3 separate regions of the Homo sapiens genome follow, and regions 2 and 3 are each linked to region 1. The links are contacts of gene promoters, found by promoter capture Hi-C in blood cells and fetal thymus (Javierre and others, 2016). All regions are on one chromosome and are shown on one strand. Each heading gives the region's core, a stretch centred on a gene start or on the middle of the fragment in contact. The rest is flanking DNA. Distances are from core to core; before and after follow the strand shown. Region 1 holds the start of ADAM15 (ADAM metallopeptidase domain 15). Region 2 overlaps ADAR (adenosine deaminase RNA specific). Region 3 overlaps ADAR (adenosine deaminase RNA specific).

Region 1 (3,452 bases), core at 377-2,876:
AGCCAGGTGCTGGGGTGTGGTGGGAGAGGCAGCTGGGCCTGGGATAGACCCACTACAGTGAGCTCTACCCACCAGCTCCTCAGCCAAGCTTTGGCTTTGAGACACCTGGCTATACCGGGGCGTGTGTGGATTCGTTTATTTATTAGAGGGGAGTGAGAGCTCACCTGAAGCACCTTTTTGAGGCTAATTGGGAGATCGTCCTGAAGGACCTGGGGCTCCAAGGGCTCCCTCGGGGCCTTCTCTGACTCTGCCTGCTGCTCCTCAGTGCCACCTGCAGGTCCCAGGACACCCCAAGACAGTACTGAGGGAATCGACAGCAGGGCTGGGGGTGACAGGTGCCCTCAGATCCACCAGCTCCCAGCCCATCAAGACCCTTAGGTACCTGAGGGGCTTCCACATTGCATGCTGAGACTTAAAGAAGAATACTGGAAGGAGAGGGTGTCTCTCTAATTTATGGCTTTCCACCCACCAACCCATTCACAAGTCCCCAAGAAAGACTTTCGGCTTGCGCAGCCTGTGGCCCTCCTTGTCCCCTTCCGGCCAATCCCAGGTTCTCACAGGACCCTCCCCGGTTCCCACTCCCTCCCAATCACTCTCCCCCCACTTCAGGAACGCCCCCTCTCGAGACTGAGCTAAGCCTTGTGGCCGGGTGCCCGCTCACCCTCCCCTTCGCTCACATCGGAGATGCCAGGAACGCCCATTTCTGGGTGAGCAGTGCAAACACCCCCACCTCCCTAAACACCCTCATGCCCAGTCAGGCACACCCGCTGCCTACAGCCTCTGCTTCCTCCTCGAGCACCCCCCACCCCCCCAACACACAATGGCCCTCTCTCCTCCGGACACTCCACCCGCGCCTGCCCTCTCGGTCCCGGCCCAAGACAGCAGCGGGAAGTGAAAGTTCCAAGGAGGAGTTGGTGTCCCAGCCTCTTTCCTGGCCAATTCTCCCTTCTCCTGGCTCATCTCGGGCCCCTCCCGCTCGGCCAGGCACTGGTGGCAACAGCACCAGGGTGAGGAGTGCCTGGCGGCCCCAGGCCTGGAATAGAGGCTAGAGAGAATCCTCTTCACTAAACCCTACAAGCCATGCCCGCTCAGCGCCCTGGCACCGGGTCGAACGGTTAGCTAGGCCCCAGAGCAGCGAAGATGCCAGTCCTGGGGAGCAGCGACCCTCTCATCACGATCTTGAAGTGGCGCTGGACAGGCCCCTCGGTACCTGGTACCTGAGCCTGAAAGTGTCCGCAGGGACCGCGCAGAGGATGACCAGGCAGGAGGCAGGGGGCGCCGGCATCCCCCCTCCTTCTCTTTTCACCCCATCGCCAAGTCACCGGGCCCTAGGCCCAGGACAGCGGACCAGGGCGGGCCGCGCTCTGGCTGGGCTCTCCCAGGGTCTCCGTCCGGCCCCATTACCCTAATGCCTTCCGACTTTCCTGCACCTCCCTCCCAGTCCGCCCCCCGACCCACTCCAGGCGGAGGACTCACCTATATTTGGGAGCGGCCAGGAAGGCAGAGGGCTGCCCGCGCCCAGGAGCCCCAGGGCCCAGAGCAGCGCCAGCCGCATGGCAGCGGCGCTCCGGGCCGGGCGAGGGCAGCAAGTGCGGAACAGCGCGCGGAGGAGCGGCCGGCGGCCAGGTCGCCTCGGAGAACCCAGCAGCGCCGCGCGGCCACCAGGCCCCGCCCCGGCCCGCCCCCTCCCACCCGGCCCCAAGCCAAGCTCCGCCCCCGGCAAAGCCCGCCCCGCTGCGCGCCGGGTGCCTCGGGAGCGGGGACACCGCCCACTACGCCCGCGCTGCTCAGCGCTACCGCTTCCCCGCAACTGTGCGGAGTGGGAGCCGGTGCCCGGTCCGACCGGCTTGGGCGGCGCGCCTTCACCCGGCGCCAGGTCCGGACCCCTCCCTAGTAGCTTCGCGGCCTCCCTGCCTCCTGTGCGCGGCCTGGCTCGGAGAGGTCGGGCGGGCAGGCTTTCCCGACTGCAGGCGAGGCAGTGCGCGGCTCACCCCAGTCCCCGACCCACGTGAAGCGTACAGGGCATTTTATTAACCGGGAAGGACGGTGCGGAAGAGCGAGCAGGACGCCTCTTCACCCCGCGTAGGCAGTGTCGTCGTTGCTGTCACTAAAGGCGGAGGAAGAGAGCTCTTCGCGGGGCGTGCAGACCGGGCACCGCTGCCGCATGTCGTCCCAGCACGACCAGCAGTACACGGCCTCGCAGTCCAGCGTCCGGCACACGTAGGACTCGGGCGTCTCGGGTGCCTGGCACACCACGCAGCGCCGGCACAGCCAGCGGCGCAGGAGCGGGCAGCCGCGGTGCAGGATATCCGCCAGCGGGTGGCGCTGTTGGGAGGTGGGCGTTAGCGCCAGCCCGGGAGCGAGGCGGGAAAGAAGGGGAACTGGACAGCGTTTCCTGTCTGAAGTCGCCAGGCCTGACAATTCCCGCGTGTTGGAGGAGGCTGGGTTGGACAAAGGAAACCCCTGGAGGGCGAGGGTGCCTCCCTCCCCAACTCTGTGATGGAGAATGGGAGGATGCACCCTCCAGGCTCTCTCCAAGCGGATATCAGCCACAACTCTCATTTGCACTTTCCTGTAAATCATCTTATTTGGTTCTCACAGTGAGGCTGAGAAGTGAGCAGGCCAGATCGACTATCACTGTTGCTATCCCCACTTTACAGTTGAGAAAGGTGAAGTGACTCTCAAAGTCACACAGATAGTAAACAATCCAACTTGGCTGGACCCCAGGGGCCCTGATTCCAAACCACAAACCTAGTTCACTATGCTCCCTGCCATCCCTCACGACATGTCTCTACACAGTTGTCAGGGATTTTCCACAGGCCACCTTACCCAGGAAGCAGCCACTCTTTGCCCAAGAAACTCCAGAGGCCCTGCTGCCTGCCAGACAGGCAGAACTCTTGGGCTTGGCCTTCAGAGCCTTCCCTCACCTGGTCCCTTTCTAGCCTCTTTCCTACTTTAGCCCTCCCTGAGAGCTGTCTCTTCTGAGCCAGTTTCTCCTGAGACTAGCCCTGGCACTTCGCATTCCCTGTGGACTGAGTCTTTGCACATTCTGCTTGGAATGACTGTCTGGCACATTTCCATCTGTGCATTCACATTCAGTTTGCTTCACGACCCTGTCAAGGAATCCCAGCATGTTCTTTTTTGTTTTTTGTTTTTCATTTTTTCACAACACATTCATTTGGCCCCTATTGTGTGTCATGGGGGCTGGGGGTATCCAGGCCCTAGGGAAAAAGCTAAGCAAACACAGTCTCACTTTTATGAACTTTGTTAGGACTGATTAAATAAGAATGGCTGCCACTCATTGTTTATAATGTCAGGTCCTGTACTAAGATACTGTACATAAATTATTTCAATTCTAAATTAGCCGGGCGTGGTAGTGTGTGCCTGTAATCCCAGCTACTCGGGAAGCTGAGGCACGAGAATCGCTTGAACTGGGGAGGTGGAGGTTGCAG
Region 2 (2,980 bases), core at 309-2,808, 460 kb after region 1:
TTGAAGCTTTCAGAACAAATAGCCTTCATCCTGTTTTCCATCGGTTTCCTTCCATTATTCTATTTCTGTTTTAAACACCTTCCTAGGGAATCGCTGTGTGAAAGGAGATTCTCTCAGCCTAAAAGGAGAAACTGTCAATGACTGCCATGCAGAAATAATCTCCCGGAGAGGCTTCATCAGGTGAGCGAGGTCAGAGCTGTGGCCCGGCTGCCCGGCTGTGGAGAGCTCCAGTTCCCTGCCCCACATGGCTCTGACACGGCCTCTGAATCCCCCTCAGACAGACGGGTCATGATGTGGCAGTGGCAGCCTTTGCTTTTCACCCGTCCATTTGAACCTGTCTGATGGAATCCATCCCCTCTGTGAGCTGAGCTGCCTCCCACTGCTCGGCCTGTTTTTAAATGCTGTCCTTTTTTCTGCTAACTCTGCTGCTTCATGTTCTTTTCTAAAAACACAAAATGACCTTTTAGTCCTCAGGGCCTTGAGGATGAGGCAGCTTTCCATTTCCGTTTGAGGACCTACACAACCTTGATGCCCCTGCCAGCTTTCTCCTCTAGCTCACCTTTTCTTTAATTTATGAAGGGAGAGACTTAGAAAGGAGCAACAGCTTCCTGTAGTCCTTGAATCAGTTTGCTCTGCTCTAGAATCCCTGTAGCCGCCATAGCGAGGAGCCCTCAGCAGAAATGAAGGAGACCCAAAAGGCTAACTATGCTTTATGAAATGCTGAGGTCTCCCCTGGAGAATTTCCACCTGATAAACTGTGAAACGTCTGCAACATTGAGACTTTTCCTTACTTTCTCATTTGGAGGTCAGATTATAGAAACAACTGCTTTTCCCAGAATTGAACCTGCCTTCCTAACCAGACTTTCTTTTTGTAGGTTTCTCTACAGTGAGTTAATGAAATACAACTCCCAGACTGCGAAGGATAGTATATTTGAACCTGCTAAGGGAGGAGAAAAGCTCCAAATAAAAAAGACTGTGTCATTCCATCTGTATATCAGGTCTGTACAGTTCCTGTTGCTGCCAGGGTGGGCCCTGCCAGGCTGTTAGAATTGGGTATCCAAATGCTCTCCTGGCCTGTAAATCGAACCTGATACAATAAGCCACACTCCACTGTGGGTTTGAGGTCCATATTCAGGTGTAGATGACTCACATGTACTGCTGTCCACCTCCAGTCTCCCATGGTAGGCCTTAGAAAACATCCCTTGCTTCTGTCACATCTGACTGTTTTGGAGCCCCACGAAATTGCAGATTTCCCACAGGTGAGTTTTAACAGCCACCCCTGTTTTTCAGCACTGCTCCGTGTGGAGATGGCGCCCTCTTTGACAAGTCCTGCAGCGACCGTGCTATGGAAAGCACAGAATCCCGCCACTACCCTGTCTTCGAGAATCCCAAACAAGGAAAGCTCCGCACCAAGGTGGAGAACGGTGAGTGATACATGCCCCCGCCTCCTTTCCTCAAAAGGCTCTGCAAGGTCCAGGGACCCCAAGTCTCTACAAGGCTGCTAGGATTTTACCATTAGTCACTGGGCACAGAGGTGCTGTTTACAGGAAAGGGAAGACCTGGGTCAGGGAGCTGTGTGGTAAGATCAGGGTTCTATTTTGAATGTGTTAGTTTGGGAGATCTGGGAGATCCCCAAGTCAAATAGGAGGTGGGGGTTCCCATGTGGAGCTCAGAGGAGGGAGCTTGGCTGGAAATAGAAATATGGGAGTCATCCCCCTATAGGGTCTTCATGGCCATGAGAATGCATAGGATTACCTCAAGAAAGCGGGGAGGAAATGAAGAGTGCGGCACAACCAAGCCCTGAGGAGTTGACAGATGAGGATGCCAAATGCTGGGGTCCCCTCCTGTCTAGCTGGCAGTTGACTCTGCCTTGTCCACTGGCTCCTTCTCTCCTATCCTCTCCTGTCTCCTTACTGTCTCTTCGCATCCACTCCATTGCGTTCAGGCCACGTCAGCAGTCATCATGGTGGTCCTGAAACCTTGCTAAATACCCTAAAGTATAGACACAGTTACCATGGAGCCGGTGCTCCACTCCTAGGTATATGCTGCAGAGAGATGGAGATCTGTGTCCACACGGAAACTAATATGTGAATGTTCATGGCAGCATTACTCACAAGAGCCAAAAAAGTGGAAACAACCCAGACGTCCATCAGCTGATGGATTCATAAATAAAACATCAAATATATCCATAAATTGAATATTATTTTGGCCATAAAAAGAAGTGAAGTGCTGATACATGCTTACAATATGGATGCACTTGAAAACTTGATGCCAAATGAAAAAAGCCAGTCACAAAAGATCACATATTGTATGATTCCATTTATATGAAATGTCCAGAATAGACAAATCCATAGAGACAGAAAGTAGATGAGTGGTTGCCAGGGCCAGGAGTGGGAGAGTTGGAGAGATGAGGAGTGACTGCGCCAATGGGTAGAAGGTTTCTTTTTGGAGCGATGAAATGTTCTAAAATTGACTGTGGTGACAGTTGCAGAACTCTGTGAATATACTAAAAATGACTGAATTGTATGCTTTAAATGGGTGAACTGTATGGCATATGAACTATATCTCAGTAAAGCATTTTTTTTTGTTTTTTTTTAAACCCGATAGTGGTTTCCCACTGCACTGCATATACAAGCAAAACCTGCTGTGATCACCCGGCCTCCTCTCATGCCACTTTCCCCATCCCTCGCATATGCTCTGTCCACACTGGCTCTCTGTCAGGCGCCTGAACAGCCAATCCGCTGGCTGCCTTGGGGCCTTTGCTTTTGTCCTGTGTGCCTGAAACACTTACTCCAGCTGTCCTCCTCCATGTCTGGGCTCCCCTGCTGCTGCTGTCCCAGGAGGTGTCCCCTGTGGTCCTCCGTCATAGCTGCCTCAGAGCCTTCAGAGCACTGTCAGCATCTGGAATTCTTCCGTATGTACTGGCTACTGGTTTAGTGTCTATTCTCTTCCCTTTCAATCTCCTCACCACCATAGATGT
Region 3 (3,452 bases), core at 433-2,932, 450 kb after region 1:
TGTGAGTACTATTCCATAGAATGAATGTTTCATAATTTAATTCTTCTATAGACAGACATTAAAATATTTTCCAGATTTGGGCCAAGAGTAGCAGTTTAAAAAACATTTAGCTTTTAACTGACTCTAGCCACTTTGAAACACAATTTTTTTTTCCCAAGGTCACTCAAAGAGCTAATAGGAGAACCCCTAAGTCCCATAATTCAGCTCTGGGAGCCAGCACTCACTCTGTACACACATTTGCCTCTGTCCCTAGCAATATGGTGGGCGTGAGGGTGCAGCAAGAGGAACAAGAAAGAAATGATTGCTTGCATAGTGGCGTCTTGTTCATGCAGTCATTAATTCAACAAATGTTTGTTGAGAATCAGCTTTGTGCCAAGTGCTAGAGAGGTTGAGATGATTGAAGCATAGTCCTTGACCCCCAAGAGCTCACCATGGAATCAACTGAAGCCCCTCATCAGTACTGTGTTGGGAATATTGAGAGTGGAGAGTTGAGTATAACTTATAGGACACCTAATGTTAATTACCTTTCAGACACTGCAATGTGTGTGTGCCATAAAAAAAAAAAAAATCCAGTAGCTCTGATACGAGGGAAAGTAAATGGTTTAACAGGTGCTGAGTAGGAGAAGCTCAAGGAGAGGAAACCCCAAGGGCTGAAGAAGGTGGGAGTCAGGAGTCTCCTGAAGCAAGTGGCATTTAAGGAGCTCTATAAGGAAAGGGTCAGAGTTGTGATAGGTGGCTGTGGAGGGAGATGTGCCACCTGGATTGGCATGTAGAGGGATAGAAAGATTATAGGCCTTTGCAATGGCCCAGTAAGAGGTAATGAGGGGCTGGAACTGGAAGAAAACACATTTAAGACACAGTACAGAGGTGGCAGACAAGGTGGGACTTGGCAACTACCTGATGAGATCCAGGAGATGAGGCCAGGAGGCGGGCAGCAAAGATGACGCAGGTTTCTAGCCTTAATAGGCTAGGAGGAGAGTGATGCCATTAGCAATAAGAACTACAGGAGAAGGAGCTGAGTTTGAGGGAACTATTAATTTGGTTCAGAATATGTGCTGTTTGAGTTATGGCAGGATATTTAAGTGGACAGACTGTCGACATAGTTGGAAATTCAGATCTTAAGCTCCCACACAAGGTAGTGGCTGGACATAGTAGATTTGAGTGCTCTTGCTTCAGAGGGCTAGTTTAGGTTGGGGCAGTGATTAAAGCAACCTAGGAAATAAATTATAAAGGAAGAAGAGGTCCTTAAAACCTTGGAGACTGATTATATAAAGGGTGGATCCGTTAATACAGTAGCTATTAAAAAATTATAAGGGGTGGGAAAAAGGGACAAAGAAGAAAAAAGAGGTGAAAGACCTTTGCTGTGTCACCAAACCCTGGGAGGAGAATTTTTTAAAAGAAGAGTACTCAATCCACAGTGAACTAAGGCATGTTTGTTAAACACAATTGACCACCACACAGCGAAGACCCAAATGAGGTTCAAGAGAAGGAATTTTTATGGACCCTGTTAGCACAAGTCAAGGTCCTTCTCCAGTACCACTGGGAAGCTTTGGAGAAGAAAAGGGGGACAGTGGGCCTTGGGTGGAGAAGGGAACTGACCATGAGATCCAGGTGGGGTGAGGAGGTGTGTGAAGTCAGAGTGGGGAAGAATCAGGGTGGCTTACTGGCAGCTTCACCGGGGTCATGCGAGGAGCAGGTTCCACCAGAGTAAGGAGTGAAGTTGTAGAAACACAGGGAAGTCACCATCAGAAAAGAGCAGGAGTCAAGAAACTATGGCCCACAGGTACAAACTACCTGTTTTTATAAATAAAGCTTCATGGTAAATGAATTGTAAATAAAGTTTTGCATATTGTGTGAGGCTGTTTTTGTGCTACAGTGGCAGAGCTGTCTGGCCCTTTATAGAAAAAGTTTATCAGCCACTGGAAAAGAGTTGCAGGATTTGAGGTCTTGGTGTGATGGCCTAGGTTAGAGTCATAGTGAGATTGAAGGAGTAGCTAGACAAGCCAATTGTGTGGCAGAAAGGTAGGGATGGAGATCACTGGGTTAAGGATCCTTGTAGCCAGGACACCATGAGAGTGATTGACAAGAATGCTGAAATCCCCTAAGTGTGTCAGGATGTGGAAGAGTAGAAGGCTAGAGTTATGGAAGAAAGGGTCCCACCTCTACCTGTGCAGCCTCCAGGAGAGTCTGAGGAGGGGGCGGTGAGTGTGAGTAAATGTTGTCAGAATCCCTCCTCCCAGTCTACAAGCCCCAGGGAAAGGAAGCAAGGTGTTTACTGACACCCCCAGGCTTATAAGTACTTCCTGGCTCCATCACCCTCCAGTGAACAGCCCTGGGGAGAAGACAGTACTGGTTTGCAGGTGGGTGGGTGGGGAAAGGGGTCACAGGTGCTTGGTGTTCTGGTAAATGTGCATATGAGAACATGGGGTTGCTTGTGCCCTGTCCGTCAGGGTTCAGAAGAACGTGCAGTGGAAGCAGCTATGGGGAAGTAGCTAGGGAAGGTAGGACTGGTCTGAGGTGGTGAGGAGCAGATGCTGCCAGCTCCACACATCCAGGAGAGCCTGGGTGGTTTGGGCAAAAGTCTCTGGCATCCCTTCTGAGCCTGGGTACCACACTGAAGAGTGAGGACAGTGTGCCATTTTTATCAGGAAACCCTCCAGCTCCCTGAAGACCAAATTCTGATCCTCCTGGGATGGCAGTGAAGAGCCACAGAGATGACTCTGAGGTCCCGTGGCCTTTTCCCACCTGGAGATTGTTTTCGTTACTGCGCTGTTACAGCCTTGGAGGACTGGGGTTCAGTTTCATCCAATCACATTTCTTCTTTTGTCATAGTCATCTAAACGATAGATCTTAGAGACAGGTGGGCAAGGGGTGCACTGGTGAGCCTGACTTAAGGAGAGGTCATCTCGTCCCTTCCCTAGTCCCATCTCCCTTGGTTATTGTTATTTCATGTGATTGTTCTGGTTATTTCAGGTTATTCTGTTTTTGTTTTCAAAACAATAACATATATTTGTTGTTCTGATTTTAAAGGGGTAATTGTTTTGGTAACTAGAAAATTACCTTCTCAACTCCCTTAAATTCTGTCAAAGGGAAAAGTAAGTTAGGTTGCTGGAGAGGCTATGCTGAGGCCTCAGAACCTCTGTATTCCTGGAAGTTCTGCGTGCTTTGCCTCCTGCTCCCCTCTCTGTGTTCCTGTTGGCAGGCCCCTAGGCAGGATTTAGGAGGTAGGCAAGTCACCCTAGCCAAGTCATAAGCCCATGGCTCAATTGCCTTCTCAGCCCTTCAAGGGCTGTTCCACAGGCAGCAAAGGGAGGGGCCTCCACAGGTTCACCACTGCAGCCCTAATTCATTTTCTTTTTCCACTGTCTTATTCTGCAGGGGTATTCCCTCAGCGGATACTACACCCATCCATTTCAAGGCTATGAGCACAGACAGCTCAGGTACCAGCAGCC

What was found. The method cuts DNA at HindIII sites, captures the fragments that hold promoters and counts their contacts. A CHiCAGO score of 5 or more calls a contact.
Region 2: a fragment that was not itself captured here is called in contact with the fragment with the promoter of ADAM15 in region 1 in 1 of 17 cell types (naive B cells); the score reaches 5.6 in naive B cells.
Region 3: a contact is called between a fragment that was not itself captured here and the fragment with the promoter of ADAM15 in region 1, in 3 of 17 cell types (naive B cells, erythroblasts and total B cells). The highest score is 7.5, in naive B cells.

What each region holds. Positions count from the first base shown.
Region 1 is chr1:155,049,490-155,052,941 of GRCh38, reverse strand. It overlaps ADAM15 (ADAM metallopeptidase domain 15), which reads right to left and starts at 1,626. Exons shown (of 23, transcript NM_207197.3): 1 at 1,477-1,626; 2 at 165-271. The coding sequence starts at 1,555. DCST1 (DC-STAMP domain containing 1) reads right to left here. Exons shown (of 17, transcript NM_152494.4): 17 at 2,012-2,325. The coding sequence ends at 2,074. The region is part of intron 1 of DCST1-AS1 (DCST1 antisense RNA 1); the gene reads left to right. ADAM15-EFNA4 (ADAM15-EFNA4 readthrough) reads right to left here and starts at 1,626. Exons shown (of 26, transcript NR_176418.1): 1 at 1,477-1,626; 2 at 165-271. RefSeq lists a silencer at 1,462-1,921 and an enhancer at 2,392-2,451. The HindIII fragment of the contact is 11,546 bases long and covers 91-3,452 here.
Region 2 is chr1:154,586,569-154,589,548 of GRCh38, reverse strand. It overlaps ADAR (adenosine deaminase RNA specific), which reads left to right. Exons shown (of 15, transcript NM_001111.5): 9 at 87-180; 10 at 876-998; 11 at 1,291-1,424. Among named protein-coding and RNA genes, the nearest start is that of ADAR, 20 kb to the left of the region's middle. RefSeq lists an enhancer at 1-849. The HindIII fragment of the contact is 3,100 bases long and covers 9-2,980 here.
Region 3 is chr1:154,602,553-154,606,004 of GRCh38, reverse strand. It overlaps ADAR (adenosine deaminase RNA specific), which reads left to right. Exons shown (of 15, transcript NM_001111.5): 2 at 3,379-3,452. Among named protein-coding and RNA genes, the nearest start is that of ADAR, 3.9 kb to the left of the region's middle. The HindIII fragment of the contact is 265 bases long and covers 1,550-1,814 here.